Regions from separate parts of the Homo sapiens genome. Here region 2 is linked to region 1. The links are contacts of gene promoters, found by promoter capture Hi-C in blood cells and fetal thymus (Javierre and others, 2016). All regions are on one chromosome and are shown on one strand. Each heading gives the region's core, a stretch centred on a gene start or on the middle of the fragment in contact. The rest is flanking DNA. Distances are from core to core; before and after follow the strand shown.

The links. The method cuts DNA at HindIII sites, captures the fragments that hold promoters and counts their contacts. A CHiCAGO score of 5 or more calls a contact.
Region 2: a fragment that was not itself captured here is called in contact with the fragment with the promoter of MAP4K2 in region 1 in 6 of 17 cell types (endothelial precursors, total B cells, erythroblasts and 3 more); the score reaches 7.4 in endothelial precursors.

Annotation. Positions count from the first base shown.
Region 1 is chr11:64,801,964-64,804,463 of GRCh38, forward strand. It overlaps MAP4K2 (mitogen-activated protein kinase kinase kinase kinase 2), which reads right to left and starts at 1,251. Exons shown (of 32, transcript NM_004579.5): 1 at 1,091-1,251; 2 at 922-979; 3 at 600-690; 4 at 456-520; 5 at 103-158. The coding sequence starts at 1,186. MEN1 (menin 1) reads right to left here. Exons shown (of 10, transcript NM_001370259.2): 10 at 1,553-2,500. The coding sequence ends at 2,371. RefSeq lists silencers at 881-1,060, 1,211-1,390. The HindIII fragment of the contact is 47,852 bases long and covers 1-2,500 here.
Region 2 is chr11:65,016,150-65,020,405 of GRCh38, forward strand. ARL2 (ARF like GTPase 2) reads left to right here. Exons shown (of 5, transcript NM_001667.4): 2 at 2,215-2,325; 3 at 2,422-2,584. It overlaps ARL2-SNX15 (ARL2-SNX15 readthrough (NMD candidate)), which reads left to right. Exons shown (of 11, transcript NR_037650.2): 2 at 2,215-2,325; 3 at 2,422-2,584. It overlaps MIR6879 (microRNA 6879), which reads left to right and starts at 2,356; the gene lies at 2,356-2,421. The HindIII fragment of the contact is 196 bases long and covers 1,752-1,947 here.

The DNA.
Region 1 (2,500 bases), core at 1-2,500:
GCCCCACCCGAGGCACTCCACCCGCCTCCCTGCTGGTCATCTGGGCTCCTGGCCCACAGCTTCTGGAGACCAGAGGTGTGGGCACCTCACAGGCCCAGCTACCTTCAGTGCCTCTCGGCAGACGTAGGCAATCTGCCGCTCCTCCAGGGGCCCAGTGGCTGAAAGGAAAAGGGAGAGGCTGGCTTGGGGGCCCGGGGGTCATGCCCACCCTCCCAGGCTACCGTGTGTGGGAAAAGCAGCAGGCACTGTTAAATGAAAGCGGTGTTGGCCACGTCCCCTCCCAGTTTAGTCTAGGATACTGAACCCAGAGATGGACAGTATTTCTCTCAAGGTCACACAGCCAGGCAGGAGTGGAGAGGAGCCCAAGTCCAGGGCCCAGAGTCCCCTCTGGTACCCCAGTGGGGTAGGGGTGGGGGAAGGCTGGGGCCTGCTGGGGCCTGGAGCCCTGGCCTCACCATGGTAAATCTCCTGCAGGGAGCCCCCTCCGCAGAACTCCATGCAGATCCACAAGCGGTCATTCCTAGGGACAAAGAGCTGGGGTGGGCACAAAGCAGGTCACATGGGGGCTGCCTGGGGCCAGGAGGATAAGGCAGCCTCACCTGAGGTAGCTGCCAATGTAGGCCACCACATTGGGGTGGCGGCACTCACGCAGGATGGTGATTTCCTGCTGGAGGGAGCTGATGTCGTCCCCTGGGAAGCACAAAGCATCATGGGGAAGGCGCGCTGGGGTTGCCCTGACTCAGTGCCCCCATCTGCAAAATGGGCACAGAGTGCCTCCCTCCGGGCCAGGCAGGTGCAGGTGACAGCACCTCCCGGGGCACGCCTCTCAGGGGTCTCGGAAACGTCAACCCTCCGCCCGCACCCCGCGCCCGCGGGCGCTCTGCCCTTCCTCTGGCGCAGAGGCCCGACCCGGGCCCTCACCTGGGTCTAGCTTGACTATCTTCACGGCGGCCAGTTCGGACGTGACCGTGTCGCGGGCCTGCAGGGGCGGAGGGTGAAGCGGGATGGGGGGCGGGGCCGGGGGCTAGATCCTGCCGCGGGGTGCGGGGCTGGCACCCTCCTCCCGGCTCTCCCGCCCGTCCCGTCGCACCTTGTAGACGTCGCCATAGGTCCCGGCCCCCACGCGCTGCAGCAGCTCGAAGCGGTCCCGCGGGTCCTGCAGCGACACATCCCGCAGCAGCGCCATGGCCCGGCGCCGGGCGGGCCGGCAGGCGGGCGGGCGCGAGCTGCGGAGCCGGCGCGGGGCGGCGCGGGGCGGGGCGGGCGCCCGTGGCTCTGAGGCCGCGGGGGCGGGGCTGAGGCCCGGGGGCGGGGCCGCGCCGGGGATGCCCCACCGCCAGTCCGGGAGGAGGCGCCCGCGGGACGGGCCCTCGGCGGCGCGGGGAAGCCCCAAGGCCGGGGCGGAGCCTACGTCCTTCCGCCGCCACTGTCGCTCGCGCTCCACAGGTAGGGAGCGCAAAGTCCCGGGAGCCAGAAGACAGAGGGAAGAGGGGGCGCTCCACTCCCCGCCCCATCCCCAATTTCCCAGATAAACATGGACTTGCGCTTTATATTTTTTTTAACAAAATGTATTCATCTTTCTTGGAACTGAAAAATAAATCTATGTACAAAACAGGAAGAGATCAGGCTCTTGTCACCCACTCCTAACCCTCTGCAGATTTCCTCCGGGATGCTCCGAGATGGGCTGGACCTCTGGGAGGTTCCCAGAGGGTCGGAAGGGAGGTCCTGCTCTGATCCGGGGCCAGTTTCGTCAGGAAGAGGGCGGGGCTCAGGATGCTCATAGGCTGGGGGCGGAGTTTTGTGTCCCAGACTCGGGATACGAAGGAGAGGAAACTAGGATTTCCAAATTCTGGAGCAGGACTGAAGTTATTTGGGGCAGGGAGCTTGGATTCGCAAGATATGGAATTCTGAAGTGCGGAAATATACTCCTAGGGGCTGAGTGGTCCTAGGCTCCCGGGCTGGAGGTGGGACCTGTGCTCCTTGGGTTAAGGGTGAAACCTCAGCTCCTACAAGCTGGGAGGAGCCCTGAGTAACGTTGGTCTGGCTCTAGGTGAGCGGTTCCGAGGAGGAGCTTGGGTTTCTAGGGGCTGGGCCTTTAAAGACTGGTAATTAGGACCCAGCGTGAGGTTTCCATTGGCCGGCTGGGATTCTGGGAGAAGAGACCTATATTCTAACGACTGGGGCAGAGCCCTGGGTTCTGAGCTGGAGAAAATCGTGGGTTTGATACAGACTGTACTCGGGACCGGGAACCTAGGGTTTGGGTAGAGGTGAGGCCTGTCCCCTTTGGGCTGGGGGCAGAACATGGGCTCAGAGTTGGGGGACTAAGGGCGGAGCCTGGGTCCCCACAAGCGGTCCGAAGTCCCCAGTAGTTCAGAGGCCTTTGCGCTGCCGCTTGAGGAAAGACAGAGTGTAGTCACTAGGGGTGGACACTTTCTGCTTCTTCATCTGCACTTGCGACTGTGCCGTGAGTTGCAGCTTGATGGCGCTCGAGTTGATCTTG
Region 2 (4,256 bases), core at 600-3,099, 210 kb after region 1:
TGAGCTGAGATCACGCCATTGCAGTCCAGCCTGGGTGACAAGAGCGAAACTCTGTTAAAAAAAAAAAAAATGACAATTGAGTACATGAGGGAGGCGAGGGTTGAACCATATAGCAATTCGGGGGGGGGGGAAACTTTAAAGCAAAGGGAACAGCAAGTCAGAGGCCCTGGGAGGACTAACTGGCGTGTTCAGAGGACTGGTGAGGAGGGCAGTATGGCTGGAGTGGGGAGGAGGAGCGTTGACTGGGAACCCCCTCACCTAGGGCCTTTTGGTTTTTGGTTTTCCCTTTCAGTGAGAAGTGCAGTGGAGAGAAGGAATCGCAGACCAGTTAGGCCACTGCAGTGACGCAGGCGAGATAGGATGGTGGCTTGGACCAGGATGGAAGTAGTGAGGTCATGGAAGTTTCTGGCCTGAGCAATTAGAAGGGTGAGGAACCATTTGCTGAGATGGAGAGGACTGGGGGAGGAGCAGGTTCAGGGTGGAGATGAGAACCCTGTGTGTGCCTGTGTGTGCCATGTGAGATGCCTCCGAGACAGCCCAGAAGTGTCAGGCAGGCAGCTGGATGTAGGCACTGAGGTCCAGTGTGTGGGAGGTGCACATTTGGGTGTTATCAGGATAGAGATGGTATTTGAAGCTGTGATCCTGGATGAGGTCACCCAGGGATGAGCGTGGCCAGAGAAGAGAACCCGGTTGTACCAGGATGAAGTCAGGTGAGGAGCAGAACCAGGTGAGGGTGTGTCCCAGTGCCAAGGGCAGCGCATGTGCTGGGGAGGAGGGTGAGCCACTCCATCAGGTGCTGAGTGGGGAACAGAAGATGACTGAGCGCTGTCCCAGCACTAGAGGGCCACAGGGAGGTCTTTGGGGACTGACCTTGGTAAGGACAGTTTTGGCCACAGCAGCAGCAAAAGCCTGATGGGAGTGTGTTCTTGAAAGAGCAAGAAGGCAGAAATGGGGGTGAGCACAAACAACTATTTTGAGATTTCCTGTAAAAGGAAAGATATAAATGAATAACTAGATGGGGCAGAGAGATCAAGGGCTTTGTTTGCTCTTTTTTTTTTTTTAATCAGACGGGGTCTCGCTGAGTCGCCCAGGCTGGAGTACAGTGGTGTGATCTCGGCTCATTGCAACCTCTGCCTGCCGGGTTCAAGCAATTCTCCTGTCTCAGCCTCCCGAGTAGCTGGGACTATAGGGGCCCGCCACCACGCCTGGCTGATTTTTGTAGTTTTAGTAGAGATGGGGTTTCACCTTGTTGGTCAGGCTGGTTTCGAACTCCTGACCTCAGATGATCCACCCACCTTGGCCTCCCAAAGTGCTGGGATTACAGGTGTGAGCCACCGCGCCCGGCCTATTTGCTCTTTTTAAGGTGGGAGAAAGAACGGCAAGCTCATCAGCCAGTGGGAATGATCAAGAGGGGAAGGAAACATGGATGATGGCTTGGGGGCAGGGGGTCATCAGCGGCTAGGTTCCAGGGGCTAAGGCTGGGCCTCAGGGGAAATGCCCTCCTCACCCCTCTCCTGGGCCTAGGTCATTTGCCCCAGCTCCGATGAGCAGGGAAAGGTGGTCGAGTCCAGGACCCGCCCACCCCACCATGCCCAACTGAGCTGCAGTGTTGGGAAGATAGAGGAGGGTGGTTCCTTCCACAGGTAAGCACACCCATTAATTTGCACTGTGCAGTAGCAGGTCTGGAATATTCCAGAAACAAATGAGGGTGGCTGCCTCCAGATATTTGTTCTTACCTTAGTTCTTCAAAAAGCTTGCTCCTTGTATTTTGGGTCTCAGCTCCAGACACCTCAGAGAGGCCTTCCCCGGCACCTGAGCTGAAAGAGCCTCCTCCGATGGCCCTCTTGGAAAGCCTCTCTGTTGTGTTGATGGCGCTAGCCGGGATCTGGCAGGGCCTTCTTTTCTCATTTGTTTGTACTTTATTGACTGTCTTCCCGCTAGAGTGTAAGCTTCCTAAGGGCAGGGCTTTGTCCTCTAGCACCCAGAAGAGGGTCTGGCACATAGTAGGTGTTCAACAAATTAAGGAGCCTTTGGTCAGTAGAGATGATATTTATAATTTGATACTTTCATATTTATTGTGGGCCGATTATGGTCAGGCATGTGCTCAACTCAGTTTGATACATGGTGGGAAATAATGAGTCCCCTAAGGGGCTCTGCAACAATGTCACCACCTGGCAGAGAACAGGGACTTCTCCTTAACCTGCTGCGCCCCAGTGGCCTGGACAATGCTGGAAAGACAACCATCCTGAAGAAGTTCAATGGGGAGGACATCGACACCATCTCCCCAACGCTGGGCTTCAACATCAAGACCCTGGAGCACCGAGGGTGAGCAGGGGCCCCATGGGAGGGCCAGCCCAGAGCAGGGCAGGGAAGGTGGGAGAGGGGCCCAGCTGACCCTCCTGTCACCCGCTCCTTGCCCAGATTCAAGCTGAACATCTGGGATGTGGGTGGCCAGAAGTCCCTGCGGTCCTACTGGCGGAACTACTTTGAGAGCACCGATGGCCTCATCTGGGTAGTGGACAGCGCAGACCGCCAGCGCATGCAGGACTGCCAGCGGGAGCTCCAGAGCCTGCTGGTGGAGGAGGTGGGCAGCTCCTACCCTTTGTGTACATGTATGGACGTGTGGCTGCCTTCTCAGCAGATGCCCAGAGGGGCCCGTGGCCCCAGAGGGAAACCAGAGGCAGGATCCCTTCCTTCTCTGGGCCCCCACCATGGGAGGCCCATGGTGCCAGAGGCAGGACACATGCTGTGGACTGAGATTGAGTTAACGTCCCTGTGGTGTTACTACGTCACTACCCTGAGCATCAGTTTCTATGCCTTGAAATGGTGATGATGACACCCACATCACTGGGCTTTAGGGAGGATAACCCAAGGCCAGTATGAAGCTTCGAGAGGCCATGGAGCCTGGCTCAAGAGTCTGACTCTTTGCTGTGTGACCTCAGCTGGGGGTGGTGGCACGCACCTATAGTCCTAGCTACTCTGGAGGCTCAGACAGGAGGATCAGTTGAGCCCAGGAGGTTGAGGCTGCAGTGAGCTGTGATCGTGCCACTGCACTCCAGCCTCCTGGGCGACAGAGCAAGACCCTGTCTCAAAAAAAAAAAAAAAGGAAGGGGCCAGGTGCGGTGGCTCACGCCTGTAATCCCAGCACTTTGGGAGGCTGAAGCGGGCGGATCACGAGGTCAGGAGATCGAGACCGTCCTGGCTAACATGGTGAAACCCCGTGTCTACTAAAAATACAAAAAATTAGCCAGGCATGGTGGCGGGCGCCTGTAGTCCCAGCTACTCAGGAGGCTGAGGCAGGAAAATGGCGTGAACCTGGGAGGCGGAGCTTGCAGTGAGCCGAGATTGTGCCACTGCACTCCAGCCTGGGCAACAGAGTGAGACTCCGTCTCAAAAAAAAAAAAGAAGGACACTTGCAAAGATAGTACAGAGGTCAGAGGTCCCCCATATACCCTTTACCTTGCTTCCCCATCTTACCTAACCGTGGCCTGTCCAAACTAATAAATCAACACTGGTGAATTACTATTATCTTAATTACAGATTTTATTTGAATTTCACGTTTTTCCACTAATATACTTTTTGTGTTCCAATGTTTGATTCAGGCTACAAAATTGCATTTAGTTGAAAATGAGGACACTTGTGAGAGTGAAAGGGGGGATTCTGCAGGCAGAGTGGGGACTGTCCTGGGCACACCGCACACATCTCCTATGTGGGTGGAGCAGGTCAGATGAGATCAGGGCCGTCAAATGCTGGTCAAGGCAGGTCAAGGCCCAAGGGTTAGACCCGTCCACCCACATCTCTCCCAATCACAGACACATATGTGGAAACAACTAGAATCAGAGGTGGACAGTGAGGCCTGTCGGGAGTGGAACGGTTAAAGGGCTGTGTGAACCCAGAAGAGGGAGAGTTCACATCCTCTGTGCATGTCTGGTCATCAGATTGGAGCAGTCTAGAACCACGGAGAGCTCAGGGATCATCTTATGCAACACCCCTCCCTGTTCATGGAAGAGGAAGCTGGAGCATGGGGACAGCGGTGTCCCCTGGGTGGTGGTTGGCTGGAACCAGAACCCTGGCCCAGGGCTGCTCCATTCATGTGGGCCAGCCTTGATGGCTACGTCCACAAACTCACTCCTGGGCCTCTCCCACCACCACGGGGCCTCACCTTGATCTTCCAGGTCGATCCTTCACCCCAGATGCTCTGGGCCATTAGAGGAGGGGTCAGGCTGTCCTCTGAGTCCCCACCCCACCCCTCTATC